7 separate regions of the Homo sapiens genome follow, and regions 2, 3, 4, 5, 6 and 7 are each linked to region 1. Evidence: promoter capture Hi-C in human tissues and cell types (Jung and others, 2019). All regions are on one chromosome and are shown on one strand. Each heading gives the region's core, a stretch centred on a gene start or on the middle of the fragment in contact. The rest is flanking DNA. Distances are from core to core; before and after follow the strand shown.

Region 1 (4,239 bases), core at 911-3,410:
CTTTGGCCCAACCTCTCCCACGGGTGTCCGTGCATCACTCACCAGCACCAGGCAGTATCTGCAGCGCCGAAGAGGGATGGCTGGAGGAACCATGGCTGTCTGCTCCTCTTTGAGCTCCTCCTGGAATGAGGGGTGGGGTGTAAGACAGGGTCCCCTTGGGAGACAGATGGCATTGGCGGGCAGCTCCCCTAGGGGCCGGCTTAGCTCTGGGTATGGAGTTTGGGACCCATCCCATGCAGAATGGAGGTGTGGGGTATGGCGGAGCACCCTGGACTGAGGGCGGCTGTGTATGTTTGCAAGTCTCTTCCTTCTCTGGGGCCCAGCAGTTTCCTCACTACTGTAGATGGGGCTCTAGGGGTGGCAAGAGGAGTCACTGAACTGCTCCCACAAGAGCCTGCAGCACAGAGCCTGGCATGGAGACTGGTGCTGGTTGTTAGGTCCCTGTTGGTGAGAGTAGGGGCCCCTGGTTACCTGAGGCTGGGGCTGCACATTCACGTAGCCAGGGTCCATGAGTGACACAGCGAGGTAGAGCAGCAGGGAGCCCAGCACCAGGAGCAGGAAGGTGAGGGGCAGGAGCAGCTCCCCCTGCTCCTCCCATTGCCGCAGCTCTGGAGAGGCCGGAGAGCACAGTGAGGCTGGGCCGGGTAGAACAGGAGTGGGTGGGGTTGGGGTGCAGTTGGAGGTGGGGAAGTGTGTTCCTGGCTGAGCAAAGGCCTGGAGATGTTGGTTCCATGAGTGGCTGTGTGTGGCCAGCAGTTCATCTGCACTTTTATCTGGAGGGTCAGAGGGAACCATGGAAGGTTATAGAGCCAGATCTGTTTTGGAAAACCTCATTGCTAAAGAAATGGATCAGGGGAAGCCTGGGGGCAGAGAATCTGGCCAGGAGGAAGAAGAGAGTCGCTACAAAGGCCTGGCAGGAAGTGAGGGAGGAAGGAATGGACAGGGGGCTGCTGGGTCAAGGGAGCCAGACCTGACTGGATGTGGGAGAGAGGGAAGAGGGGTCCAGCGTCTCTGGCTCTGCAATGGTGAGAGACTGGTTAGGTCTGAAATGCCTGAGAGAGATACAGTGGGAAGGGTGCAGCTGGCAGGCTCAGATGCTGCAGAGGGGCATACGGAAGGGTCCAGCAGGCTTCAGCCCAGGGAGGTGACAGGATTTTGGGGAGGTAGGGTGCAGGGCAAGGAGTGAGGGGGCATGAGACCACCAGACAGCAGAGTGTAGACAAATCCTGTGTCCCTTGGTTGTAAGGGGGAGCAGAGAAGAAAGGGTGGGTTTTGAGGGGGGTTTTCTGATACGGAGACCTGAGCAAGTTTTTAGGCTAAAGGGTGAAGGTGGTGGAGGAGGTCTGTCTTGGGAGGAAAGCCAGAAGGGGCCCCAGTCCAGAAACTGAGGCTGGACCGCCATGGAAGGAGGGCTGGGGTCTGCTGTGGGGGACAGTGGGGGAGGCTGCCTGTGGCAGGTGAGGCGCTGGGTAGGGGGCTACTAAGAGGAATGAGGGAAATGGAGGTGGGTGGGTGGGTGAATCTGTGGGAAGATGGGAGACAGGCCGCACCCCATGGAGTGTTCTCTGGCCTGAGGGTTTGCCTGGACTTGGGCAGCTAGTGGCCATGGGGGTGTGGGGGGTGTGGGTGTGGGCAGAATGCCAATCTTTGCATCTAGTTGAGCCTCCTAATCGTATGGATAGGAAGATTTGGGGTCAGTTCCTGGGAAGGATCATGTGGGTCCCAGGATCAGGGGACATGGGGCTCAAGTCGGTCCTTGGATCTGGTGGGCACCGGCTGGGTCCTGGGATGGACAGGGCATTTGGCAATGATCAGGAAGATGCTGGGATTAATTAGGGATCAACGGGGTATCAGACAGAGAGCAGGTGGCTCTTGGAATGATAGATGGGGAGAGGGCTTCAGGAGCTGGTGGAGATCGGGCCAATCCCAGGATCTCCAGGGATTAGGCGGGAGACCCAGTGTGACCAGAACGTCTGGGGAAGTACGCGGGATCGGGTGGGTCCGGGGTCGCTCGGGGTCCGGCTCACCGGTATCGTGCAGGAAGAGCACCAGCGTGATTCCCCAGGTCAGCACGGTGTGCCCGGTCCGCACCAGGACCCCAGGGCTGAGGAGCGCCCAGGGCGCCATCGCCTCGGCCCGGGGCCCCACCCGGAAGAAGCGCCCAGAGGGGCGGGCCCTCCGAGGGAGGGGAACGCCGCCGCCCGGGGACTGGTGGATCTAGGCGTTGGGCGGGGCCGGACTGGGTCAGGGAGGCTGCCTATTGGATGGCATCTGCGGCCGAATGGACCCTCAAGCCAACAGGTGCCTGAAGAGGCTGAGGGTGGGGCCGGCGCGCGCGCAGCTGGTAACTCCCTCAACTCCAGCCCCACCCGCCAGGTAACTTTTGAAAGCGCCGGAGCGCGCGCGCACCTCCCCCGCGCTCCGCTGTGCCCTCCCCCGCGTTCCCCTGTGCCCGCCCTCGCAGCCTCGCGCATGCGCGTAGCTCCCTGGGCGCTTCGAAGATCCAGCGGCTTGCTGTGAGTCCGGGAGGCAAAATTGTACCCATTTCAAAGATGTGATGACTAAAGTCTCGAGAGGGCCAAGGCTCGCCCAAGGTTGCTCTGTGGTGACAGCTTTACCTCCTTGCTATGTATTCTCAGATATTGCAAACGGACGAGAGAAAAGTGGAGGTACGTGGTGCACATTCTGACTATGGGTGATCCAACTTAGGCGGGAGTCAGAAATCCCAGCACTGCCCCTTCCTACCTGTGTGACCCTGGGCGAGTTACTGAGCCCCTCTGAGCTGTTTTCTGTCTCTATAAGGGGGATTACAATAGTGTCTTCCTCCTAAGGTGTTTGGGAGGATTAAATAATGGAAGCGCCTTGTCTAGCACGGGACTGTCTTGCCTCTCCTGCTGTGAGCCACCACCTACAGGCGGACTTTCCTCACCGGAGGCTGCAGGCTGTCCTCCTTCCCTGTGTCCCCAGGGCCTTCTCCACTCAGCCCCGCCTTTCCACAGCACCTCCCACTGATACCAGCATCCTCCTCCGCCTCCCTCTGATTGGCCCCATCCCAGCTCCTCCAGGATACTCCTCTGACATCTGTTGTTTTTCTCAGCTCAACATCCTTTTTTTGGTTGGGGAATCGACTTCCCATCCCATGTGATTGGAGGGACTGCCCCTCACCCCATAGGATGGCGAGCGGCAGGCTGTGGGCTTTCGACTCTGCAGAACCAATCACAGGCCTTCCATGAGATTACTGTCTAGATGCTGAGAGGAAGGAGCATTCTTTTGGATCTCAAGCCTAAGGAATGGGATATAAGGCAACTGGGAGCCGTCTTTACGCTGGGCGGAGAGGGCTTACCCTGTCTGTGGCTGGAGAAAATGAGACCAACTTATAAAGACACATAGAGATGGATAAGCAGCACTAAAGGAGGGAGCAAGAGATGGTCTGAACAACATTGTCTGAGCCCTCTAGATCCGGCTGTCCCTGAAGCTGATACTGACTCTGCATCCCCTGGTTGCAAGAGTCAATGAATGCCCACCTTTTTTTTTTTTTTTTTTTTGAGACAGAGCCTCACTCTGTTGCCTAGGCTGGAGTGCAGTGGCGCGATCTGGGCTCACTGCAACCTCCACCTCCCAAGTTCAAGTGATTCTCCTGCCTCAGCCTCCCAAGTAGCTGGGGTTACAGGCACATGCCACCACGCCCAGCTAATTTTTGTATTTTTAGTAGAGACAGGGTTTCACTATGTTGTCCAGGCTGGTCTCGAATTCCTGACTTCAAGTGATCTGCCTAACTCAGCCTCTCAAAGTGCTGGGATTACAGGTGTGAGCCACCATGCCTGGCCCCAATTCCCACCTTTGACTAGCCTGAGTAGATGTTTGAGTTGGGTGTCTGTCATTTGCAGCTAAGTCTTGACTACTGCACTGGGTGCAGGATCTGATGTGCTCAGTGGGGACATCCAGCACATTATCCACTCAGCACATAATTCTGAAGCTTCCGTGGGTTAGGCACTGTGCTAGTATCAAACATCCCAACACTAGTTCAAATAGTAAGGCCAGATTTTAATTAACAATATACTACTGATAGGGCGGAGAGCCCAGTGTGAACCAACTGAAACTTCTGTTTGTGCAGAGGTGACTGATGTTTTTTGTGGTTTTGGTTTTCTGCTTTCTTGAGATGGGGTCTCGCTATGGCCTCAAACTCCTGACCTGAGGCAATCTTCCCCCTCAGCCTCCAGAGTAGCTGGGACTGCAGGC
Region 2 (4,239 bases), core at 779-3,278, 250 kb before region 1:
TTGAAATCTTATATCCTTGACCAATATTTCCCCAATGCCCCCCAGTTCCATCTCTGGCAACCAGCATTCTGCTTCTGTGAGTTCGACTTCTTTTTTTTTTCTTTTTTGAGATGGAGTCTTGCTCTGTCGCCCAGGTTGGAGTACAGTGGCGCGATCTCTGTTCACTGCAACCTCCGCCTCCCGGTTTCAAGTGATTCTCCTGCCTCAGCCTCCTGAGTAGCTGGGACTACAAGCGTGCACCACCATGCCCGGCTAATTTTTGTATTTTTAGTAGACACAGGGTTTCACCATGTTGGCCAGGATGGTCTCGATCTCTTGACCTTGTGATCCGCTCACCTCAGCCTCCCAAAGTGCTGGGATTACAGGGGTAAGCCACCGCGCCCGGCCGAGTTCAACTTCTTTAGGTTCCACATATAAATGAAGTCATGTGGTCTTTCTGGGCCTAGCTTATTTCACTGAGTATAATATCCTCTAGTTTTGTGCATGTTGTGAAAGGATTTCCTTTTTGAAGGCTCAGTAGTATTCCATTGTGTATCTCTACTGCGTTTTCTTCATTCATCTGTTGATGGACACTTAGGTTGATTCCGTATCTTGGCTATTGTGAATGATGATATATTAGCAAATATTGCAGAAAAGACTGACAGTATAAATGGTTGTCTCCTGCTTGGTTCTAAGCAAAGAGATGACAATAGTCTCAAAATGCCAGTGCTAATGAAATGGTGACGTTCTTCTTATTTTTGCTTTTTTATTTGAGACCGAGTTTCACTCTTGCCCAGGCTGGAGTGCAATGGCACAGTCTTGGCTCACTGTAACCTCCACCTCCTGGGTTCAAGTGATTTTCCTGTCTCAGCCTCCCTAGTAGCTGGGATTACAGGTGCATGCCACCACACCGGGCTACTTTTTGTAGTTTTAGTAGAGACGGGGTTTCATCATATTGGTCAGGCTGGTCTCGAACTCCTGACCTCAGGTGATCCACCTGCCTCGGCCTCCCAAAGTGCTGTAATTACAGGCGTGAGCCACCACACCAAGCCCTGTTTTTTTGTTTGTTTCGTTTTGTTTTAACATTGTCAACCTTGTTTTTATCTTTTTTTTTTTTCTTGAGACAGAGTCTTGCTCTGTCGCCCAGGCTAGAGTGCAGTGGCACGATATCGGCTCACTGCAACTTCTGGCCTCCCGAGTTCAAGTGATTCTCCTGCCTCAGCCTCCTGAGTAGCTGGGATTACAGGTGCGTGCCACCATGCCCAGCTAATTTTTGTATTTTTAGTAGAGATGAGGTTTCACTGTGTTGCTCAGGCTGGTCTCGAACTCCTAAACTCAGGCAATCTGCCCACCTCAGCCTCCCAAAATGCTGGGATTACAGGCATGAGCCACCGCGCCCGGCCTTATCTTTAAAAATTAATATATTGGCCGGGTGCAGTGGCTCATGCCTGTAATCCCAGCACTTTGAGAGGCCAAGGCAGGTGGAACACTTGAGGTCAGGAGTTCGAGACCAGCCTGGCCAACATGGTGACACCCCACCTCTACTGAAAATACAAAAATGTGATGGGTACCCGTAATATCAACTACTCGGGAGGCTGAGGCAGGAGAATTGCTTGAACCCAGGAGGGGGGAAGTTGCAGTGAGCCTAGATTGCACCACTATACTCCAGCCTGGGTGACAGAGCGAGACTCTGTCTCAAAAAAAAAAAAAACCTGTTAATATATAAAATAAGGCCAAGTGTGGTGGCTCACGCCTGTAATTCCCACACTCTGGGAGGCCGAGGTGGGAGAATTGCTTGAGGCCAGGAGTTTGAGACCAGCCGGGGCAACACAGTGAGACTTCATCTGTACAAAACATTTTAAATTTAGCCAGGTGTGGTGGCACACACCTATAGTCCTAGCTACTCGGGAGGCTGAGGTGGGAGGATTGCTTGAGCCCTGGAGGTCAAGGCTACAGTGAGCTGAGATTGTGTCACTCACTCAGGCTGAGTGACAGAGTTAGACTGTCCCCCCAAAAAATTATATATATATATAACAAGTAATGTAAAGTGGTATCCTCACTGCCCAGCTTTTTTTTTTCTTTTTTTTTGAGACGGAGTCTCGCTCTGTCACCGAGGCTGGAGTGCAGTGGCGCAATCTCAGCTCACTGCAACCTTCCCCTCACGGGTTCAAGAGATTCTCCTGCCTCAGCCTCCCAAGCAGCTGGGATTACAGGTGCCACTCCCGGCTAATTTTTGTATTTTTAGTTGAGACGGGGTTTCACCATGTTGTCCAGCCTGGTCTCAAACTCCTGACCTCAGGTAATCCACCCGCCTCAGCCTCCCAAAGTGCTGGGATTACAGGGGTGAGCCATTGTGCCCGGCCACTCACCGCCCAGCTTTTAAAATAAGTGTCTACATAGTTGATTCCCTTTTGTGTGTCATTTTGCAATAACCTTGTCTCCCTCCCCTCAGAGGGAAGCTTTATTAATTTTTTTGTTTGTTTTGATACAGAGTCTCACTCTGTCACCCAGGCTGAAGTGGCACAATCTCAGCTCACTGCAGCCTCTACCTCCTGGGTTCAAGCGATTCTCCTGCCTCAACTTCCTGAGTAGCTGGGATTACAGGTGTGCATCACCACACCTGGCTAATTTTTTGTATTTTTAGTAAAGATAGGGTTTTGCTGTGTTGGCCAGGCTGGTCTTGAACGCCTGACCTCAAGTGATCTGTCTGCCTCGGCTTCTGAAATTGTTGCACTCCAGCCTGGATGACAGAGCCAGACACTATCTCAAAAAGGAAAGAAAGCCAGGCATGGCGGCTCACGCCTGTGATCCTAGCACTTTGGGAGGCCGAGGTGGGCAGATTGCCTGAGCTCAGGAATTTGAGACCAGCCTGGGCAACACGGTGAAATCCCATCTCTACTAAAATACAAAAAAATGAGCTGGCATGGCGGTACGCTCCTGTAGTCCCAGTTACTCAGGAGGCTGAGGCAGGAGAATCGCTTGAACCCGGGAGGCAGAGGTTACAGTGAGCCAAGATCATGCCACTGCACTCCAGCCTGGGTGACAGAGTGAGACTCCATCTCAAAAAGGAAAAAAAAAAAAAGCCTCTTGCTCTAGCCAGTTTTCTCCTTTTTTGGTTTCTTAGCTTCTGTCATCCTGGAGTCCCATCTTCAATTGGAGATGAAGGGTCAGCTAATTTGAATTCCCACCCAAAAGTGGTGTTTTGTGCTTTGTCCAGGCTCAGCTCCTTGGTGCCCATCTGTGCTCAGGGCTCCCTCACCATCTCGGTGCTTGCTGGGTAGTGCTCAGTGTGGTGGGGAACTGCTCTGGTTCTGGAGTCCGAGTCGGCTCCAGGGCCCAGTACTACCCCTTCCAGCTGTGTGGCCTCACTTGCCTTCACTTCTCCCAGCCTTAGTCTCCTCCTCTGAGATGGGGGTAGTGATAGTGCATGGCTCTTAGAGTAGGGGGCTTTGGTGAGTTCATGCACATAGGATGGCAGAAGAGTTGGTCAGTGGTTTCAGTGCCCCAGGGGAGGCCTGGAGGGCAGTGAGAACAGCCTCAGGTTCTGCATCCGTGGCCAAGCCTTCTGTCCCAGGTTCTTTGCCTCTTGTTGCCAGAGAAACCATAATACTGTCTTTTATCAGTTCCTAGGTGCCCAGGAAACTTTGGGAACCAGAGAGCCCTTTTCTCTGGGCTTATGAAGGGGATCTGTGGGTCTGAGAGGGAAAGAGGGTGAACAAGATGTCCCTCCCTCAAGGGATACTTTGTTCAGGTGCCAAAGAAAAATAGGGACAGTCACAAAGACATAGCCCAGTGAGAAAATGGGCCAGGGCAGGAGCAGGAAGTTCAGGCAAGAGGAGACCCAAATGGCTCATATGAGAGGATGCTAATCCTCACTGGTAATTAGAGAAGTGCAAATGAAACCAGCAGGAGTGCTGTTGGCAGATGACTGGCAACAGAGGCAGAGGTTGGCTGCTGCCTGGTACTGGTGAGTGCAGGGAAGTGAGTCCTCCCATGTCCTGCTTGTAGCCCAGTGAATTGGTGCAGGCATTTTGCAGGGCATTTCAGCCACAAATCTCAGACCTTCCGACCTGGCCATTCCTCTTCTTGGTATCATCCCTAGAGAGGCACTTTGTATATGCCCAGCAACGTCTATTGCTGCAGTGTTTGTAGTTGCAAAACATGGGAACAGCCTCATTGTCCAGAGGTTGTGGGGAGAGGTTAAAAATGGCAGTGGCATATTAGAGACACGGAGAGGTTCCACATGCCATGGCATATTAG
Region 3 (4,239 bases), core at 1,740-4,239, 230 kb before region 1:
GTGAAATAAAAGTCTGGTGTGCCAAATGCCATGTGTTTGCACAAAGTGATTGTAGTTATAGGAGCCGTCACTTGCGTGGAGTCACTGGGCCCTCCTGCTGTTGCCCCCACCCAAGACTGCTGCCTCTGCCTGTGTGCTCCGCAGCTGTCCTCAGCTCCACACCCACAGCTGGGAGATGCCAGCAGACACCGAGCCGTAGAATTTCTTTTTTTCTCTTGCTTTAGCTGCTTCTCCTGACTCTTTAACAGATGCACTGCCTGAGATTCTGTCCTGAAAGAAGCAAGCATCCCTTTCTCCCAGAAGCAGTCTGTCTCTGGGTTACTGGAACCATGCCTACGGCCTGCAGTGTCCAAGAAATTATATACCACTCATTTGCAGCGTGACCTTGGGCAAGGCCCCTTTCCCACTCTTGACGTGTGTACTTGTGATAATTAGAAAAGGGGCTACCATTTTTTGAGCACCTCTTCTGTGTTCCTGCATTCTCTCATTTAATTCCATCAGGAACTCTGTGAGGTGCATGTGTTATTTTCCCCATTTTACAGAAAGCAGCCCAAGGCATAGAGAGGAGAAGTAATTCCCCACCATCACAGAGCTAGTACCTAGTAAGCAGGGATTGGAACCCAGCCAGCTCTGTCTGGTTCCCAAGCCCACATTCTCAGTACTGTAACCTTACATTGCCTGCCTTCTCCGTTGAACCTGAGCATTCTCAGGGACTTTGAGCCTTGATAGCTGAGGCTTCTGCATAAAACAGCCCTCTGGGTAAATTCTCAAACTTGCCAACTCAAAAGGATTGACAGATTTCCTGTTGTCTTGCCTGCACTTGTCCCCAGTTAAGAGGAGGTTGAGATCAATAGTACCAGCAACATAACAGGTAAAGCTCTGTGGTTGGTTTGTATGGGCCAGTTAGCCCTGCCAGCTGTTTCTGCCTTCTCATGTCTGTCCTGGATCCTAGCTGGGTCTCTCTGAGTGGCCTCCCCTGATCGAGAAAGCATCTTTGTCATTCTTTAGCATCAAACCTGGTTTCTCCCAGTGTGGGGAGAGCCTTTTGTCTTTGGAGTTGGGCCTAACCTGTCCCTGCTGTCCTTTCTCCTCTAGGTTGTGCGTTGAGACTTGGACACCTGCTGAGGGCACTGTGCCCCTTTCCTGGGTGTGGACAACAGGTCATAGGGAAAGGGGAGGGCTCTAGCGGGAAATTCCTTTGTAAACCAGTCTGTGTTCCTGTCATTTTAGATCGAACACCAGGGGGACAAGCTGGAGATGGCGAGAGAGAAACATCAGGCTTCCCAGAAGGAAAATAAACAGCTGAGTCTGAAGGTGGATGAACTGGAGAGGTTAGAGGCACTTGGTCCCATCTCTGTCCTCTTCCTAGGACCTGAGACTTTCAGCCACTTAGCTGTTTTTTGCTTAGTGTGCGGAAGTGTTGAGGGACTCGAGGCCCTGGAAGGTACTAGGCAGACCTCAGAGGAAAAGCTGCTTCCATTTCAGTGGTAAGCATTGTGGGAGAGAGCAAGGGGGCCTCTCAGCCTGGGGAGACACTCCATGACAGCATGATCAGGATCTGCCCACCTGTAGGCACCACCTGTCCCAAAAGGCATGCCTGGTCCAGGCCTGCCAGGAGGGCCCAGTTTGAATGGAGCAGCCAGTATACTGTGGTGGGGGCACTTCCCCACTCTTTTCTGCCCTTTCTTGCCAGTCACCCTTCCCAAGACCTTTCTGATCTGACCGTTCTCTGTTATTTACGGATTGTTGGAGGCAGTCAGAGGTGAAGGGTACGGCTTTGGGAATCAGAAGCCCTGGCCTTGGGGCCCAGCTCTGCCACTTACCAGCATTGTGATCTTGAGCAAATCATTTAATTCCTTTGAAGCTCAATTTCCTCCTTTTGAGGAAAGGGTCAAGGTAGAGTTTATCTATCTATCTATCTATCTATCTATCATCTATCTATCATGTCACTCTGTCACCCAGGCTGGAGTGCAGTGGTGCAATCTCAGCTCACTGCAACCTCGACCTCCTGGGCTCAAGCAATTCTCCTGCCACAGCCTCCCAAGTAGCTGGGACTACAGGCGTATGCCACCATGCCTGGCTAATTTTTGTATTTTTTGTAGAGATGGGGTTTCGCCGTGTTGCCCAGGCTGGTCCTGAACTCCTGGGTTCAAGTGATCCACCCACCTAGGCCTCCTAGAGTGCTGGGAGTACAGGCGGGAGCCACCACACCTGGCTGATAATAATCTTTTCATGGTGGTGGTGTGAGTCTTCAATGATATAATCCTGGTAAAGGTCCTAGCATGTTACCTGGCATAGAGAAGCGCTCAGTATAGCTTAGAACATGTTATTAGTTAGCTGGTATTATCCCAGTTTTAAATATGAGGAAACTGAGCTTGGGGAGGAGTTAAGTGACTTTCCCAGCATCACACTGTTGGTACCTGGCAAAGCATGACTTAGACCCGTGACTGTCTTCCTCGAGAGCTTCTGTGAGCATCTCTAAGAGGTAGGCAAGAGGCCGGGCGTGGTGTCTCACGCCTGTAATCCCAGCGTTTTGGGAGGCCGAGGCGGGCGGATCACGAGGTCAGGAGATCGAGGCCATCCTGGCTAACACGGTGAAATCCCGTCTCTACTAAAAAAAAAAAAAAAAAAAAAAAATATATATATATATATATATATATATATATATATATATATGTATAAAATTAGCCGGGCGCAGTGGCGGGCGCCTGTAGTCCCAGCTACTCGGAAGGCTGAGGCAGGAGAATGGCGTGAACCCGGGAGGCGGAGCTTGCATTGAGCCGAGATAGCACCACTGCACTCCAGCCTGGGCGAAAGAGCAAGACTCCATCTCAAAAAAAAAGAGGTGGGCAAGAGTCCTCCAGCCCTGGTCCCAGCCTTAGTTTCAGAGGTGAAGGTGCCTGACATCCTAGGAGGCCCTAAGTGCCTCAGGTGGCCAGTGCACTTGCAAGGAGGCTACAACCAAGTGGGCTCCTTCCAGGCTCCACCTCTGCTCTGCCCTGCCAGCCTTGGAAATGGCAGCTAGATCCCCCAGGCCCTGCAGAGCTCCTTAAATTGGAAGGCATCCTGGAAGTGCACTGAGGACAGTGTGTGTATATCGGGATGGCCATATTTGCCCTATGGCTGGTCACACAAGATGTTGAGTGGTGTAGCTGAAGTCCCTTTGCTGTGGGAGGCAGCAGTGAACAGCAGAAGTTGCAGGCTTAGGTTTTGGTTACAGACTTGCCAGCTGTGCTGACTTCAGGCCAATGAATTCCCCTCTCTGAGGCTCAGTTTCTTCATTTCTGAAGTGGGGATAATAATGGTACCATTTTTCTGAGCTGCAAGTTGCTGTGTTCCATGTGATGCTATCCACACTTAACAAAGCCCACGGTCAGTCTCTGCGTTCCCACCCTTCACTCTGTTCTCTAACCAGTTGCTCCAGCTGCACAGTTCTTTGGTCGCCTTGCTGATCTGCAGATTTCTTTGGCTTATTCCTGTGGCTCCTTGGAGATTCTTGGCATGATGAGATCCCCAGTCCAGGAGAGGCTGGCAGCCCCCTGGCGGGGTGGAACATGACAGGTTGGGGTATGCCCAGGATCTGATTGAGTGCTTTCACCTAGGAAACTGGAGGCGACCAGTGCCCAGAATATCGAGTTCCTACAGGTGATTGCCAAGAGGGAGGAGGCAATCCACCAGTCCCAGCTGCGGCTGGAGGAGAAAACACGGGAATGTGGGACCCTGGCAAGGCAGTTGGAGAGTGCCATTGAAGATGCGAGGAGGCAGGTCAGTCCCGATTTCATGAATGACTAGCTCTGTGACCTTGGGCAAATCACCTAAACTCTCAGCTTATTTCTCCATCTGAAAAATGGGCACACAGTAGTACCCGCTTCATGAATTAGTTGTAAGGATCACATTTTCATCGTAGAGGGCTCAGCACTTGATATCTGATGATTGCTCATTTACTCACTACCCTCTTGAGCCTCACATAGGCTTACCACATCTTAGGTGGTGACTCCTGGAGCACTGGCAAAGCTGGGTGGCAGGCATAGTCCCCATAGTTAGTTCCTGCCCCAGCGTTCTAGAGAACACAGTCCACAATGATGTGCAAGTGCTGTCTGCAAGACCAGATAGTGGGCCCAGCCTTCTCTTTGCCAAGTGTTCCCCATGTCCGGTAAACCAGTCTCATGTCTGGGCCTTTGAATGTGCAGGTGGAACAAACCAAGGAGCACGCACTCTCCAAGGAGCGAGCAGCCCAGA
Region 4 (4,239 bases), core at 772-3,271, 180 kb before region 1:
TTTGAGAACACAAGTGGTATTCTGTATACTCTCCTTACTAAGTTTGGGAGGTATACCATACCTTTAGGAAGGCGTCCATTCATTAGAGGAAAAGAAGAGTAGTTCATTAAGACCTGATTGGTTAAATGGAGATATTGCCATATAAAGAGAAATGCTTTAGAAGAAAGTTGGGTGTTTCCATTTATTCCCTTGTTAGCAAGTTCAGTGGCATTGTGGTTGAAATTTTTGATAGGTGTGAAAGATGAAGGGCTGATTGTGCTTTATGAATCTGTCCTGTGAGTGTGAATTTTCATTTTCTGCTCTGACAGTGCCTGTCTTTCCCTCTAGGTGTGTGGGAATGCCCTCATGAAGCAATACCAGGTTCAGTTCTGGAAGATGCTAATTCTCATCAAAGAGGACTACTTTCCCAGGTATCAGGCTTGTTGAGCAGACAGCAGGGGATTAAGTAACTCATAACCAGGCCTCAGATACCCAAGGGTGCTATTACCTGCTGGTTTTGATTCAAGTTAAAAACACCTGTACTAAGTATGACATCTTTCCTACTCCAGTCCCTCTCGTTGATATTTGAATAAATGCTTTTGAACCTTAATGAGAGTCTGTCTTAAATATCATTGCCCAAACAAAAACACAAATTAGGGGCTGAGCACAGTGGCTTATGCCTATAATTATGCCTATAATTGCAGCTCTTTGGGAGGCCACAGGAGGAGGATCACTTGAGCCCAGGTGTTCAAAACCAGCCTGGGCAATATAGCAAGACCCCATCTCTACAAAAAAAAAATTAGCCAGGCATGATGGCATGCATCTATAGTCCCAGCTACTAGGGAAGCTGAGACAGGAGGATCGCTTGAGCCCAAGAGTTCAAGGCCTCGGTGAGCTATGATCGCACCACCGCGCTGCACTCCAGCCTAGGTGACAGAGTGAGACACCGTTTCCAAAAGATAGGTGTATATCATAGGTGTGATTCATGTGTCTTTCTCTCCCTGTAGAATTGAAGCTATCACAAGCTCAGGACAGATGGGCTCCTTCATACGCCTCAAGCAGTTCTTGGAGGTAAGATGCCCTTAGACCAACATGCCCCACACTGTTGTTGGGCTGGAATGCACCTATGTCTGACAAGTCTTGGACCTTCCGATGCTCTGATTGCACTCTCTTCCTTAGTTCTTCCAAACCCTTCTTTTTGTTCCTAATTCCCTCTTAACCTTTGGAGTAAGGGCTGCCATTTCCTCTTCTTTATATGTATCATTCTCTATACTGCCTGTGAGAAAGCTATGCTGAGATGAGTAAAATATATTTAGTGTATCTCCTCTCATTAATATATATTTTTTTTGCATGTTGGCCAAGGTTATTTTCTTAGTCTCAGGTCTGGGGAATTGGTAAGTGTCATCACTTTTCTCCATGAGATCAAACTGCACTTTCAGTTGGACTCTTCCCCTACTTCCAAGTGCCAAGAGATTGTAAAAGGTTAATTTTGACAAAGAATTTAGAACACTATAGTGGGTTTGCCAAGATAGCCTGCTGACTTTTCAGCTTCTCAAAGCTCGATTGTGAAAATAGTGATTGTGAAAGATGAGGTTAGCCTGTAGGGAGACAAGAGTGGGACAGGAATAATAAGAGCATTTCATTTGTTGTCTGGAGCAGATCATGCAGAAGTGGACATCTTATACAGAACCATCAGTCTTACTGGCTTTTTCCTTTTTGTTCACTGTTCCATAGGGCTGAAATATGGTGTTCCTCAAAGCTTCTTTTAACCATTAAGTGTTGGGAACACTGTTATCAGAAACTCATTCTGTTTTCTTCATCTTTCCCTGACCAGAAATGTTTGCAACACAAGGACATTCCTGTCCCCAAGGGCTTTCTGACTTCCTCCTTCTGGCGCTCCTGATGTCACTCCATCACCCACCATCACCGCTGCTGCAAAGAGGCAATAATAAAGGAACTGAAGACAGCTGTATTTGGGAGAAGTCATGTCAGATTCAGAAATTTGCCATTATGTATTTTTATGTATTTATGCCTTGTGACTAGGAGAGGAGATTTTCATGGGTCACAAAATTCTTGGAGGTCCCTTAGTAGATTTGGTAGTTCCTTAAGAGATCCACGTGATAAAATAAATGGAGTTGGCCTTTCTTGTTTTTTGCAAAAGTGATAAAAGGTCTTTAGCACTTGGTCTCCTCCCTTGTCTCTAGTGTCTTTCAGAAAGTTGGCAATACCTTAACAAATGCACTCTGAGCTGGAGGGAGCCCACCATTTGCACCCACCTACCCACCCTCACCCCTGTTCAGATGAATTTCCAGAAAGAGCTAAGGCTCATAAGGTTCCCTTTTAAGTATTATTTAATAGTTGAGGCCAGATACTTACATGCAAGTCTGGGTTATGGTTGTTTTGCCTTTCTCAGCTTGTGAAGTCATTCTAAAGCTAGAGGAAGTATGTGATATACACATGGACTAAGGCTCAGGTGACACTATGGCTAGATTAACATCTGGGATTAGGACTGGAAACACATGTCATTTTGAACTAAGGGAAACTCTTTGTCATCCTAATTTGGAATTTGGTCCCTGGATGGCTAGGGATCCATGAACCAGGCAGGTACCTTTTTTGTTTTTGTTTTGTTTTGTTTCTTTTCTGTTTGAATTAAGATGGGCTAAGATGGGGCTTGCAACATTAAACATGAGCTGAGCATCCATAAGCATTGAATTGGGATTAAATAAAGATGTTGGGCAGGAACTGAACACTGCTAATATGATGATAAATATGCCTGACTAAAGCCACTACAGAAATCCAGAGATTGGCTGTTAAAATTTGTTTTGTGGAAAGACTAATTCTCTTTGATACTGCAGAGGCAGTGGCCATGGATCTGTTCCTCTGTGCTAAATGTCTTGTGGCAGGGTGTGTTTGTGGGGGAGTGTTCACTGGTACTCTTGAGTGGCCTGAAGTGACCCATTCTATGAATTGTTAATTAAGGTGCCAAAAAAAATTAATAATAAAGCTTGGTTTTTTGAAAAACCCATTGCTGATATATTGGTTCAATATGATCAATTTCCTCTGCCTTGAGCTATGTAAATCATGATAGTATACAAGTCCAGGTATAGAGCGGTATGCATTTATTCCTTTTGGTCTTCTTGACCTACACCTTGGGAATATTACTTCTTTTTCTGTCATTTCCTTTTTTGGAATTATGTACTAATAACTGACCCTATTTTATCTAGCAAGAGATGTGAAAGTGTATTAAAATCTTTGAAAGACACAATAGGCCGTGCTTAGTGGCTCATGCCTGCAGTCCCAACACTTTGGGAGGCTGAGGTGGGAGGATTGTTTAAGTCCAGGAGTTCAAGACCAGCCTGGGCAACATAGTGAGACCCCCATGTCTAAAACAAATTTTTTTGGCCAGGCGCGGTGGCTCACGTCTTACCAGCCTGGCCAACATGGCAAAACCCTGTCTCCACTAAAATTACAAAAATTAGCTGGGCATGGTGGTGTGTGCCTGTAATCCCAGCTACCCAAGAGGCGGCTGGGGCAGGAGAATTGCTGGAACCCAGGAGGCAGAGGCTGCAGTGAGCCGAGATCACTCCAGCCTGGGCGACAGAGTAAGACTCTGTCTCAAAAAAAAAAAAAATTTTTTTTTAAATTTTTCAGGCATGGTGGCACATGTCTGTAGTCCCAGCTACTCAGGAGGCTAAGGTGGGCAGATCACTTGAGCTTGGGAGGTCGAGGCTGCAGCGAGCTGTGATCATGCCACTGCACTCCAGCCTGGGTGACAGAGCAAGACCCTGTCTCAAAAAAATAAATAAATAAATAAGGTAGACACAATGGAATGAACACTGGGGACGGAGTCAGGAGACCCCGGCTCAAATCACTTTTAGGTTTTTTGGCCTTGGGAAGGTCCTTCACCCGCTCTGAACCTCAGTATCCCCACCTGTAAAACAAAAGAACTGGACATGTCACTGTAGTTTTCAAACTATGCTTGATAGCAGTTCCTTAGCGAAGAGCTTCCCAGCTGGTGTGCCTTGGCATGATGACCTCATTAGCCCTCCCAGACAAGGCCTGTGGTGGGTGAGCCCCCAGGAGCGGTTCCATTCACATTTCCTCTCCTTACCTTTGCCTTAAAAATGGCATAATTCATCCGGGTGTGGTGGCTCATGCCTGTAATCCCAGAACTTCGGGAGGCCGAAGCTAGTGGATCACAAGGTCAGGAGTTCGAGACCAGCCTGGCCAACATGGTGAAACCCCCCCATCTCTACTAAA
Region 5 (4,239 bases), core at 655-3,154, 170 kb after region 1:
GCTCCCTGGGAGAGCACTGGAGGGCCAGCCTTCCCATCTCTGGTACAGGAGGGGTGCCAACCTCCCGCCTCCCCTCCTGCTTGGGAAGTTTTCCTGGCTCAGCCTTGTTTGTGCTTTCACAAAAGGCTCTCTGTGCCCTGTTTACCCGCAGCCCGACTGCCTGCCGCCCAGGTGTGGGAGCCACGCCAAATCCCTGTGGGCCCACATGGGGTCTGGTGCGTGCTGGGGGGGTCTCTCTCTGGGACAGAGTGGGCAGCTTGTCATTTCTTGACTCCCTGTCTTCGAGAAGCATCCAGGGGATGTGGACTGGGGCTGAACCTAATGACTGGCTCTGAGAGCAGATGGCCAACTCTGCCACACGGGGTCCTGAGCCTGGGAGGGTCTCTGAGTGGTCTGCGAGTTTTCGAGGTTCTGCGAGTCCTGGGGGGTCCTGTGGGTCTCTGAGTGGTCTGGCCCTGCTCAGAGACATGGTGCTTGAGGCTCCGCCCTCACCCAGGTCAGTCCCCACTGAATTCTGGGAGGGTCATCTGCGATGGCAGGTGGGACCGTGGAACGACAGCCTGAGTGTGCCCGGTGCTGTATTGACACATGATGCCTTACTTTTAATTCTCACGATAACCCATTTCACAGCTATAACCCATTTTAGGATGTAATATTTCCATCTTGCAGTTGAGGACACAGAGGCTCTGAGGCCCCAGTGAGGCAGTAGTGGGGTTGGCGTTTGAGTTGCCCAACTCTGGGGTCTGAACTCCTCCCTGCTCTGCTCCCAGGAGGTGAGGACCGCAAGCTGCTGAGCGTGAGTGTTACGAGGCAGGGCAGGGAGGATGAGGCTGACCTGTTTCTAATGTACGGATGGCAGCTACGCATAAATTCTTTTATCATCCTGAGAAACCACACAGTGAGGAAGGTCTTTTGATTTATTTCCAAGCAGTTTTTCTACTCATAAACATACCAGATTTAAATAATGGAAGAATGTATAATATAGACAGCCCTCTACAGTCTCACCACGAGTAGACTTAACTATATATAGTTCTGTGCATAGCTTTCTAAATTCTTTTCTGTACACAGTAATGAGTTTGTTATTGATATAATTTTATTTTTTGAGACAGAGTCTCACTCTGTCACCCAGGCAGGAGTACAGCAGCACAGATTCGGCCCACTGCAACCTGCGCCTCCCGGGTTCAAGTGATTCTCCTGCCTCAGCCTGCTGAGTAGCTGGGACTACAGTTGTGTGCTACCACGCCCAGCTAATTTTTTTGTATTTTTAGTAGAGACGGGGTTTCGCCATGTTGGCCAGGCTGGTCTCAAACTCCTGACCTCAAGTAATCCACCCACCTCGGCCTCCCAAAGTGCTAGGATTACAGGCGTGAGCCACCGTGCCCAGCCATCATTCTTGTTTTAAAAAATTGCCAGGCATGGTGGCTCACACCTGTAATCCCAGCACTTTGGGAGGCTGAGGCAGGCAGATCACAAGGTCAGTAGATCGAGATCATCCTGGTTAACACGATGAAACCCCGTCTGTACTAAAAATACAAAAAAATTTGCCGGGCATTGTGGTGGGTGCCTATAGTCCCAGCTACTTGGGAGGCTGAGGCAGGAGAATGGCGTGAACCTGGGAGGCAGAGCTTGCAGTGAGCAGAGATCATGCCACTGCACTCCAGCCTGGGCAACAGAGTGAGACTCCATCTCAAAAAAAAAAAAATTATACCAGTAACAGACCAGGTACAGTGGCTGACACCTGTAATCCCAGCACTTTGGGACACCAAGGCAGGTGAATCACTTGAGGTCAGGAGTTTGAGACCACCCTGGCCAACATGGCAAAACCCCATCTCTAGTAAAAATACAAAAATTAGCCAGGAGTGGTGGCACACACCTGTAGTCCCAGCTACTTGGGAGGCTGAGGCAGGAGAATCGCTTGAACCCAGGAGGTAGAGTTTGCAGTGAGCCAAGACCACACCACTGTACTCCAGCCTTGGCAACAGAGTGAGACTCTACCTCAAAAAAAAAAAAAAAAAGATATCATATTTCCTAATTTTTTTCATTGTGGTAAAATACACATGACATAAAATTTACCACCTTAACCATTTGTAAGTGTACACTTCAATGGTATTAAGTACATTCATATTGTGTATCCATCACTACCACCCATCTCCAGAACTGTTTTCATCTTGCAAAACTGAAACTCTCTGCACCCATTAAACGCTCACTCCCCATTTCCTGCTCCCCCAGGCCCTGGTATCCCTTCTGTTTTCTGTCTATTCACTTATGTGAATAAGTGAAATCAAAGTATTTGCCTTTTATGACTGGCTTCTTTCGCAGATAACACATTTTATATACTGCTCAGCAAAATTCTTTTATGCTTAATATCTCTTAGATGTCTCTGGGGTCACTGCATACACATCTACAAGGAAGGTGGCGTTATTCCTGATTTAAAGTTGTAGAAGCTCGGGAGGCTGAGGTAGGAGAATCACTTGAACCCGGGAGGTGGAGGTTGCAGTGAGCCAAGACCGTGCCACTGCACTCCAGCCTGGGCCACGGAGCAAAGCAAGACTGTCTCCAAGATAAAATAAAATAAGTTGTAAAAGCAGAGGCTTAGGCTAAACAATTTGCCTGGGGTCACAGAATTATTTCTTGCTGGAGCTGGATTTGAACCTACATGTCCCAAACTCCAAGTCCTTGCTCTCTCTGCTCCCTGAGATCCACCTGTGCCTGAGGGAAGGCTGGGGCTCTCTGGGTTACTCATTTAACCCCCAGGCACAGAGATGCCCTGGCCCTGGCCAGGAACCTGGTCCCATTTGTCCTAGGCACCTGCTTGAGCTGCCTTGTGGGAAGGGCCTGTTCTGCATGATGCCCACTTCTACATCTCCCTGGGGGCAGGGCAGGACCAGGTAGGGAGTGCTTACGAGTTCTGCAGGGTCCTCAGGGGCTGAGGAGCAGCAGCTGGTAGGAGGAGCTGCCTCTGCTGCTCCGGTAACCTGGTAAGATGCAGTAGCTGCTGCTCCCCGCTGAGCCTTCGCCTGTGGGAGGTTGGGGAGAGCACTGGCTATGCAGGGTAGGAATGCATGAGTGTTTCAGTGAGTTTTGTGTGATGAAATGGTTTAAGAAAAGTATAAAAACTAGAACAGATACATCCATATCAAGAACTCAGCTTTGTCAGACTTCAGTGTTTTGCAGTAATTGTTTCAGATACACACATGCACGCACGCACACACTTGAATGTGCGCAGGCACTTAAGTAAAATATTCCAAGCACAGTTGAAGTCCCTTCCCCATTTTCTTCCCTCCCTAGATACAATCATTATCTTGGTTTGGAGACTTTCCATGCATGCTTTTGTATCTTCGGTATACTTGGGTATACACCTTGTAGAAAACCTTATATAACATATGCATCATCTACAACTTGTTTTTTGGATCAACATTGCTTTTGAGGTTTATCCACATTGATACATGTTGCTACAGTTCATTAACTTTAATTGATTTAAAGCATTTCCATTGTATGATTAGAACAACGTATCCTTTCTCCTGTTGATGAACATGTGGGTCATTTCTGATTTTTTGCTATTACAAACAATTCTTCAGTGAGCATCCTTGTGTGTGGTTTCTCACTTATGTGTGGAGCAGCTTTCTAAGATGCATAAATAATGAGGAGAGGAGTTGCTGGGTTGTAGAGTACGTGCATCCTACCTTCTCTAAGAGTTCACAGTTTTTGCCAATTGGGGGAGTGAAGTGATATGTGATCGTTTTAATTTACATTCCTTGATTACTAGCAAGGCTAAGAATTATTTCATACATTGGTTCCATTTGCATTTTTCCCCTGTGAATTGCCTATGCGTATATTTTGCCATTTCCCCTCATTGGATTGTTTTTGTCTTATTTATGCAGGATTTCTGTATTTATTCTGGATACTAATCTTTTCTTTTTTCTTTCTTTCTTTATTTTTTTCTTTGAGCCAGAGTCTTGCTCTGTCACCCATGCTGGAGTGCAGTGGTACGATGTCTGCTCACCGCAACCTCCGCCCCCTGAGTTCAAGGGATTCTCCTGCCTCAGCCTCCTGAGTAGCTGGGACTACAGGCATGTGCCACCAGGCCCAGCTAATTTTTTTGTATTTTTAGTAGAGATGGGGTTTCAGCATGTTGGCCAGGCTGGTCTCAAACTCCTGACCTCAAATGATCCACCTGCCTCAGCCTCCCTAAGTTCTGGGATTACAGGCGTGAGCAGTTGTGCCCGGCTGTATTCTGGA
Region 6 (4,239 bases), core at 662-3,161, 160 kb before region 1:
TTCAAACTCCTGACCTCAGGTGATCCACCCGCCTTGGCCTCCCAAAGTGCTGGGATTACAGGTGTGAGCCACCCTGCCTGGCCGATAATTTTGATTTTTAAGAAATGATTAATACATCCACATCCACCTCACCTTTTTTTTTTTTTTTAAGAGACAGAGTCTCGCTCTGTCGCCCAGGCTGGAGTGCAAAGGCGTGATCTTGGCTCACTGCAACCTCAGCCTCCCGGGTTCTGGCAATTCTCCTGCCTCAGCCTCCCAAGTAGCTGGGATTACAGGCGCACGCCGCCACACCTGGCTAATTTTTTGTATTTTAATAGAGACGAGGTTCCACCGTGTTGCCCAGGCTTGTCTCGAACTCCTGAGCTAAGGCAATCCACCCCCTTCAGCCTTCCAAAATGCTAGGATTACAGGTGTAAGCCACCGTGCCCGCCTTTTTTTTTTTTTTTTGACACGGAGTCTAGCTCTGTCACCCAGGCTGGAGTGCAGGGGCTTGATCTCAGCTCACTGCAAACTCCGCCTCCCAGGCTCAAGGGATTCTCCAGCCCCAGCCTCCTGAGTAGATGGGACTACAGGCATGTGCCACCACACCCAGCTAATTTTGGTATTTTTAGTAGAGACAGAATTTTATCACGTTGGCCAGGCTGTTCTCAAACTCCTGACCTCAGGTGATCTGCCCGCCTCGCCTCCCAAAGTATTGGGATTACAGGTGTGAGCCACTGTGTCTGCCTCACTGTTTTTTCACTCCAAAGTGCAGATGTGAAAAGGAACTAATAAAGAGGGAGTGAAGGCCGGGTGCTGTGGCTCACGTCTGTAATCCCAGCACTTTGGGAGGCTGAGGTGGGTGGATCACCTGAGGTCAGTTCGAGACCAGTCTGGCCAATATGGTGAAACCCAATCTCTACAAAAGTACAAAAATTAGTCGCGTGTGGTGGCGGGTGCCTGTAATCCCAGCTACTGGGGAGGCTGAGGCAGGAGAGTCACTTGAACCTGGGAGGCGGATGTTGCTGTGAACCCAGATAGCATCACTGCACTCCAGCCTGGGCAACAGAGCAAGACCCCATCTCAAAAAAAAAAAAAAAAAAAAGAAGTGAAAGGAACTAATAAATAACCAAACAGCCATCAATAAATAATATGTCGGCCAGGCACGGTGGTTCACGCCTGTAATCCCAGCACTTTGGGAGGCCGAGGCGGGCGGACCACAAGGTCGAGATCAAGATCATCCTGGCCAACATAGTGAAAGCCTGTCTCTTAAAAAGAAGAGAAATACAAAAATTAGCTGGGCGTGGTGGTTTGTGATTGTAGTCCCAGCTACTCGGGAGGCTGAGGCAGGAGAATTGCTTGACCCTGGAGGCGGAGGTTGCAGTGAGTCAAGATCGCACCACTGCAATCCAGCCTGGCGACAGAGCAAGACTCCATCTCAAAAAAAAAAAGGCCAGGCGCGGTGGCTCACGCCTGTAATCCCAGCTCTTTTGGAGGCCGAGGCAGGCAGATCACGAGGTCAAGAGATCGAGACCATCCTGGCTAATATGGTGAAACCCCATCTCTGCTAAAAATACAAAAAATTAGCCGGGCGAGGTGGTGGATGCTTGTAGTCCCAGCTAGTCGGGAGGCTGAGGCAGGAGAATGGCATGAACCGGGGAGGCGGAGCTTGCAGTGAGCCGAAATTGCACCACTGCACTCCAGCCTGGGCAACAGAGCGAGACTCCGTCTCAAAAAAAAAAAAAAAAAAAAAAAAAAGAATATGTCAATATGTCAACTCTAATCATGTTAAGAATCACTGTGTCTATTGTGCCATATTCTGGGAACCGGAGGATCCCAGGTCATCCTGGCCTTTGCAACTTGCTTACTAAATTACCTGTCTCCCAACTACTTAATTATAAAACGATGGCAGTTTCTTTATTTCCAAGCTCTGAATATAATTGGATCTATAATATGTGCCAAGTCCTGAGTTCTGTGCCCAGAGAGTAAGAGTAAAATATGGTCTTCTTTAGAGTTCCTTAAAGGACTTATGAATGTGGTAGGGAGAACACAATAATTTCATGGCAGAATGTGGCAGTGTTATAAGATGAATGATAGAGGTGGGTGGTCAGGGAGTGGAGACTTCTGATTCAGAAAGACTTCATAGAGGACGAGGCATTTGCTTTGGACTCAGAGATCTGTATGATTTGTTTTTTATATTTTTTATTTTTTTGACAGGCTGGAGTGCAGTGACGCGATCTGGGCTCATCACAACCTCCGCCTCTCAGGTTCAAGCGATTCTTCTGCCTCAGCCTCCCGAGTAGCTGGGGCTACAGGCGCGTGCCACCACACCCGGCTAATTTTTGTATTTTTAGTAGAGATGTGGTTTCACCATGTTGGCCAGGCTGGTCTGGAGCTCATGACCTTGTGATCCACCTGCCTCGGCTTCCCAAAGTGCTGGGATTACAGGCGTGAGCCACCGCGCCCAGCCGAGATCTGTATGATATTAGATGGTAGGGTTGGGAGTGGGAGAGGAGAGTGCACTCCTGGGAAAGGGAACTTTTTGAGCTTTCAAATGGACCCTGTCCAGGACCTGTAATTGGTGTTGGTGAGGGAGCTTGACATGAGATACGGCTGGAGGAGACAACTGGAAGGTGACTGAGTGAAGTCTTGTTTACCTTGTAGTAAATGTGATTATAGTGATCCTTGTCAGGGTCCTCATCAGAAATCAGCCTTCTCCAAAATAGGCTGACAGACTTAGGGCAGCAGTGTAAACTATGACTGCCTGTTATCATTAAATATTACAAAACTTTGGGAGGCCAAGGTGGGCGGATCACGAGGTCAGGAGATCGAGACCATCCTGGCTAGCACGGTGAAACGCCATCTCTACTAAAAAATAGAAAATATTAGCCGGGCGTGATGGCAGGCGCCTGTGGTCCCAGCTACTCAGGAGGCTGAGGCAGGAGAATGGCGTGAACCCAGGAGGTGGAGCTTGCAGTGAGCCGAGATCACGCCACTGCACTCCAGCCTGGGCGACAGAGTGAGACTCCGTCTAAAAAAAAATATATATATACATGTATGTGTATATATATATATATATATATATATATATATATATGTATATATTTTATTACAAAAACTGCTCTGAGCAGACATTAAGCTTTTCAAGGTCACTCCCAGTTTTTGGTTTTAAGGACTTGACGTCTGTTTTAAGAATAGAAAATAGGCCAGTGCAGTGGCTCATGCTTGTAATCCCAGCACTTTGGGAGACTGAGGCATGTGTATCACTTGAGTCCAGGAGTTCGAGACTAGCCTGGGCAACATGGTGAAACCACACCTGTACAAAAAATATAAAAATTATCCAGGTGTGCTGGCACCTGCCTGTACTCCTAGCTACTCAGGAGGCTGAGGCGGGAGGATCGCTGGAGCCCAGGAGGCAAGGTTGCAGTGAGTTGAGATCGTATCACTGCACTCTAGCCTGGGCAACAGAGTGAGACCCTGCCAAAAAACAAAAAACAAAAAAACGCCACTTTCTCAGAGTATACTGCCATGTGGTCAATCCAAGATTGGTAATTCAGATTTAGTCATTAGGTTGACACCTAGTTGTGTAGCTTTAGTCAGCACATTCTTTATTTGCCATTCTTGTCATCAGTCTAGCACTTAACTGGATAGAATTCCAATTTTACAATATGCAAACTGAAAGATTCGTTATGGAGCTCTCTCCCTACCCCTTACAAATGAATTCAGGTCTGCTGCACAGCATCTGCAACATTCAGCATGGACTTGATCATTTATTCAACCATTTCTTTTTTTTTTTTTTTTTTGAGACAGGGTCTCATTGTGTCACCCAGGCTGGAGTACAGTAGTGTGACTACGGGCGCATGCCACCATGCCTGGATAATTTTTTTTTTAGAGCCAGGGTTTAGCCATATTACCTAGGCTGTTCTCGAACTTCTGGGCTCAAGCAATCCGCCCACCTCAGCCTCCCAAAGTGCTGGGATTGCAGATGTGAGCCATGGCGCCCGGCCTATTCAACCAACATTTCTTGATGACCTCTGTATGCTAGAAATCAGGGATACAGGACCGGACATGGTGGCTTACACCTGTAATCTTAGCACTTTGGAAGACCGGAGGTGGGAGGATCATTTGAGCCCAGGAGTTCAAGACCAGCCTAGGCAACCTATCAAAACCCTGTCTCTACAAAAAAAATTTAAAAATTAGCCAGTCATGGCTGTGCGTGGTGGCTCACGCCTGTAATCTTAGCACTTTGGGAGGCCAAGG
Region 7 (4,239 bases), core at 1,291-3,790, 140 kb after region 1:
CGGCTTCCATTGCAGGGGACTGGCAGTGCATCGGGCCTATGTGTGGCCGGGTAAGACTGGGCATAGGAGTCAATGTTGGTTTGTTTGTTTTTTGACACAGAGTCTCGCCCTATCTTTTTATCACCCAGGATGGAGTGCAATGGCATGATCTCGGCTCCCTGCAACCTCCGCCTCCCAGGTTCAAGTGATTCTCATGCCTCAGCCTCCCGAGTGGCTGGGATTACAGACGCGCGCTACCATGCCCGGCTAATTTTTTTGTGTGTCTTTAGTAGAGATGGGGTTTCACCATGTTGGCCAGGATGGTCTTGAACTCCTGACCTCATGATCCGCCCGCCTCGGCCTCCCAAAGTGCTGAGATTACAGGCATGAGCCACCATGCCCGGCCAGAAGTGAATGTTATGTTGCACCCTCCACAGGGTAGGTCTGTTCTATTACCACACCCAGGATCAGGCCCCAAGTAGACACACAAGGAGGAGGGCAGTGCTGAGAGACGGGGGAAGGATTAGAACACAGGCTTTGATGACCTTGGCAGTGTGACATGAGGCAAGCCATTTTACCTCTCTGAACATCAATTTTCTATGCATGAAATAAATAATAATAATTCATGGAGGCTGGGCATGGTGGCTCACACCTGTAATCCCAGCATTTTGGGAGGCTGAGGTGGGCAGATCGCTTGAGCTCAGAAGTTCAAGACTAGCCTGGGCAACATAACAACACCCTTTCTCTACAAAAAAAAAAACCAAAACAACAAAAGGATCCAAATACAAGAGCTTGCACCTGAGCATGTGCACACATCTCTGTGTCTGTGTCTGTGAGCTTATGGGTGTGGTGAAGGTAGGTTCCAGGAACTTAGGAGGGAGGGAGGGAGGGAGAAGCCATAAGGGGTTCTCAGCCAAGAGCAGAAGGGTACAGGGGGCACGTAGGCTGCCTTAACCCAGCAACTTGGCCAGGTTGGTTGGGAGCAACTTGGGGGCTTGTGGGTGTGTTATTCCCGAGTCGGCCAGCAGGGGGCGCAAGGAGCCAGGCCCCTCGTGGCTTTGAGGTTGCTGGCCCAGGTCACAGAGCAACCTGCTGGCCCCAGGAGGGGACTACGCCTCACTTCACAGAGGAGGCCCAAAGCAGGGAGGGTGCTGCTCCAGGTTCCCGCATAAGGCAGGACTCCTGACCTCCCAGGCACACCTCCCTCCAATGCCCTGCGCCTCACCCCTTTTCTAGGAAGCAGGCCTTCCCTAGTCAGCTCCTCAACAGCCCTGGCAGTCACCTTTTATTTACCACACGCTTTCCTGTGCTAGGTGCCCCGTGGAGCCCTACACGTCCCACCACTTAAAAATGTTTTTCAGGCCGGGCGCGGTGGCTCACACCTGTAATCCCAGCACTTTGGGAGGCCGAGGCAGGTGGATCACAATGTCAGGAGATCGAGACTGTCCTGGCTAACACAGTGAAACCCCGTCTCTACTAAAAATACGAAAAAAAAATTAGCCAGGCATGGTGGCGGGTGCCTATAGTCCCAGCTGCTTGGAAGGCTGAGGCAGGAGAATGTTGTGAACCCGGGAGGCGAAGATTGTAGTGAGCCGAGATTGCGCCATTGCACTCCAGCCTGGGCGACAGAGCGAGACTCTGTCTCAAAAAAAAAAAAAAAAAAAAAGTTTTTCATTTAAAAAATTTTGGTAAAATACACATATCATAAACTTTACCATCTTAACTATGTACAGGTATACAGTTTTGGGAACTGTTTTCATCTTGTAAAACTGACAACTCTGTACCCATTAAACAATTACATCCCTTTACCCTCTGGCCCATAGCCCAGCCCATTTGCTGTCTCTGCGATTTTGACTACTTGAAATCAGGTCCCATCACTTTTATTATTTATTTACTTATTTTTTGGGGGACAAAGTCGTGCTCTGTCGCCCAGGCTGAAGTGCAGCAGCGCGATCTCAGCTCTCTGCAACCTCCGCCTCCCATGTTCAAGTGATTCTTGTGCCTCAGCCTCCCGAGTAGCTGGGACTACAGTTGTGCACCACCATGTCCAGCTAATCTTTGTATTTTTAGTAGAGACAGGGTTTCACCATGTTGACCAGGCTGGTCTAGAACTCCTGACCTCAAGTGATCCGCCTGCCTAGGCCTCCCAAAGTGCTGGGATTAGAGGTGTGAGTCACTGCTCCTGGCTTCCCATCACTTTTAATCCTATAAGAAAGATTCCTTCAAGAGGCTAAGTGGTCAGGTACAGTGGCTTATGCCTGCAAGAGAGGCCAAGGCAGGAGGATCCCTTGAGCCCAGGAGTTCGAGACCAGCCTGGGCAACGTAGTGAGACTCAATCTCTACAAAAAATAATAAATTATCTGGGAGTGGTGGTGCACGTCTGTAGTCCCAGCTACTCGGGAGGCTGAGGTGGGAGGATCACTTGAGCCTGGAGGTTGGGGCTGAAGTGAGCCATAATTGCACTACTGCACTGCAGCCTGAGTGACAAAGCAAGACCATGTCCCTCCCCACATCCCTCCCACACCAAAAAAAAAAAAAAAGGCTAAGTCACACACCCAAGGCCACAGCTAACAAGTAGCAGAGCCTACATATATATATATATATATATATATATATATATATATATATATATATATATATTTTTTTTTTTTTTTTTTTTGAGACAGAGTTTCGCTCTTGTTGCCCAGGCTGGAGTGCAATGGTGCGATCTTGGCTCACTGCAACCTCTGCCTCCCGGGTTCAAGCGATTCTCGTGCCTCAGCCTCCCAAGTAGCTGGGATTACAGGCATGCACCACCACACCAGGCTAATTTTGTATTTTTAGTAGAGGTGGGGTTTCACTACGTTGTCCAGGCTGGTCTCAAACTCCTGACGTCAGGTGATCCACCCACCTCGGCTTCCCAAAGTGCTGTGATTACAGGCGTGAGCCACCACACCCAGCACAGAGCCAATATTTGAACTCAGGACTCTGACTCCTACTTTCCAAAAGCCAAAGCAGCACAGATGCATGGATGCTCAATGGGAAATGAGAGAATTTGGTCCAGTGGCTCACATTTTATTGATGGGGATACTGATAACCAGGGATGGGGAACTGACCCACCCAGATTTCCCAGGACCAGGTTAGCGAAGTCCCAGTCCTGACATTTTTCTCATCCTAATAGGCTGGCTCTTCCAATGGGCGTTATGCACCTGGCACAGAGCAGCTGCTCAATAAACCTGCAGAATGAGAATGAATGTCTATCGCTTGCACCAGACTGTAAGCTTTGTTAGAACAAAGATTCTCTTCTGTTCATCTTTTTATTCTCAACATCTTGCACAGAGCCTGCCATATGGTAAGTGTACATCTCCTCAGTGAATTCCTATTATGTGCTATTCATTCCCTAAGCTAGCCACCATGTATACAAGGGTGATAGGATACCTTCCTTTCCTCCAAGGAGCGCACAATCTAATCAAGGAGACAAACAAGTAACTGGGCCATTTTAATATAATATGAGCCTTAATATGCAAATATTTGTATAAATCGACAACAAAAGACCAGCATCTCAATAAGAAAAAGTGTGAAAAAGATATAAATGGGAAATTCACAAAAGCAAATAGTCGCTGGGTGTGGTGGCTCACGCCTGTAATCCCAGCACTTTGGGAGGCTGAGGCAGGCGGATCACCTGAGGTCAGGAGTTTGAGACCAGCCTGGCCAACATGGTGAAACCCTGTCTCTACTAAAATACAAAAATTAGCCGGGTGTGGTGGCAGGCACCTGTAATCCCAGCTACTCGGGAAGCTGAGGTGAGATAATCACTTGAACCTGGGAAGTGGAGGTTGCAGTGAGCTGAGATCGTGCCATTGCACTCCAGCCTGGGCAACAGAGCGAGACTCTGTCTCAAAAAGAAAAGAAAAGAAAAGAAAATAGTCGCCGGGCGCAGTGGCTCATGCCTGTAATCCCAGCACTTTAGGAGGCTAAGGCGGGCAGATCACTTGAGGCCAGGTGTTCAAAACCAGCCTGGCCAACATGGTGAAACCCTGTCTCTACTAAAAATATAAAAAATATTAGCCGTGATGTGCGCCTGTAATCCCAGCTGCTTGGGAGGCTGAGGCAGGAGAATCGCTTGAGCCCAGGAGGCGGAGGTTGTGGTGAACTGAGATCGTGCCACTGCACTCCAGTCTGGGTGACAGAGCGAGACTCTGTCTCAAAAAAAAAAAAAAGTCAATAACCTTGAAAGGATGCTGAAAATTAGTCATAATTAGTGATACGTAAATGAAAGCG

The links. Contacts are between HindIII fragments. The study calls those that stand out against the background at their distance.
Region 2: a fragment that was not itself captured here is called in contact with the fragment with the promoter of ZDHHC12 in region 1 in 4 of the 25 tissues and cell types used here (dorsolateral prefrontal cortex, liver, mesenchymal stem cells and 1 more).
Region 3: a fragment that was not itself captured here is called in contact with the fragment with the promoter of ZDHHC12 in region 1 in 1 of the 25 tissues and cell types used here (dorsolateral prefrontal cortex).
Region 4: a fragment that was not itself captured here is called in contact with the fragment with the promoter of ZDHHC12 in region 1 in 9 of the 25 tissues and cell types used here (adrenal gland, aorta, dorsolateral prefrontal cortex and 6 more).
Region 5: a fragment that was not itself captured here is called in contact with the fragment with the promoter of ZDHHC12 in region 1 in 2 of the 25 tissues and cell types used here (liver and spleen).
Region 6: a fragment that was not itself captured here is called in contact with the fragment with the promoter of ZDHHC12 in region 1 in 3 of the 25 tissues and cell types used here (IMR-90 fibroblasts, adrenal gland and mesenchymal stem cells).
Region 7: a fragment that was not itself captured here is called in contact with the fragment with the promoter of ZDHHC12 in region 1 in 2 of the 25 tissues and cell types used here (hippocampus and lymphoblastoid cells).

Annotation. Positions count from the first base shown.
Region 1 is chr9:128,721,967-128,726,205 of GRCh38, forward strand. It overlaps ZDHHC12 (zDHHC palmitoyltransferase 12), which reads right to left and starts at 2,161. Exons shown (of 5, transcript NM_032799.5): 1 at 2,028-2,161; 2 at 472-608; 3 at 43-120. The coding sequence starts at 2,127. It overlaps ZDHHC12-DT (ZDHHC12 divergent transcript), which reads left to right and starts at 2,496. Exons shown (of 2, transcript NR_046240.1): 1 at 2,496-2,669. RefSeq lists a silencer at 2,050-2,529. The HindIII fragment of the contact is 17,684 bases long and covers 1-4,239 here.
Region 2 is chr9:128,475,557-128,479,795 of GRCh38, forward strand. The region is part of intron 8 of ODF2 (outer dense fiber of sperm tails 2); the gene reads left to right. Among named protein-coding and RNA genes, the nearest start is that of ODF2-AS1, 4.7 kb to the left of the region's middle. The HindIII fragment of the contact is 8,207 bases long and covers 1-4,239 here.
Region 3 is chr9:128,494,811-128,499,049 of GRCh38, forward strand. It overlaps ODF2 (outer dense fiber of sperm tails 2), which reads left to right. Exons shown (of 21, transcript NM_001351578.2): 18 at 1,231-1,331; 19 at 3,603-3,765; 20 at 4,191-4,239. Among named protein-coding and RNA genes, the nearest start is that of GLE1, 7.8 kb to the right of the region's middle. RefSeq lists enhancers at 1-476, 1,020-1,314. The HindIII fragment of the contact is 9,273 bases long and covers 1-4,239 here.
Region 4 is chr9:128,539,289-128,543,527 of GRCh38, forward strand. It overlaps GLE1 (GLE1 RNA export mediator), which reads left to right. Exons shown (of 16, transcript NM_001003722.2): 14 at 328-410; 15 at 987-1,050; 16 at 1,814-3,000. The coding sequence ends at 1,882. It overlaps LOC101929270 (a long non-coding RNA gene), which reads right to left. Exons shown (of 4, transcript NR_188457.1): 2 at 4,091-4,239. Among named protein-coding and RNA genes, the nearest start is that of SPTAN1, 11 kb to the right of the region's middle. The HindIII fragment of the contact is 3,623 bases long and covers 211-3,833 here.
Region 5 is chr9:128,892,795-128,897,033 of GRCh38, forward strand. All of the region lies in intron 2 of LRRC8A (leucine rich repeat containing 8 VRAC subunit A), which reads left to right. Among named protein-coding and RNA genes, the nearest start is that of LRRC8A, 13 kb to the left of the region's middle. RefSeq lists an enhancer at 1-57. The HindIII fragment of the contact is 8,143 bases long and covers 1-4,239 here.
Region 6 is chr9:128,559,952-128,564,190 of GRCh38, forward strand. All of the region lies in intron 1 of SPTAN1 (spectrin alpha, non-erythrocytic 1), which reads left to right. Among named protein-coding and RNA genes, the nearest start is that of SPTAN1, 9.5 kb to the left of the region's middle. The HindIII fragment of the contact is 5,340 bases long and covers 1-4,239 here.
Region 7 is chr9:128,862,742-128,866,980 of GRCh38, forward strand. All of the region lies in intron 1 of KYAT1-SPOUT1 (KYAT1-SPOUT1 readthrough), which reads right to left. The region is part of intron 1 of KYAT1 (kynurenine aminotransferase 1); the gene reads right to left. Among named protein-coding and RNA genes, the nearest start is that of KYAT1, 17 kb to the right of the region's middle. RefSeq lists an enhancer at 849-1,143. The HindIII fragment of the contact is 3,497 bases long and covers 793-4,239 here.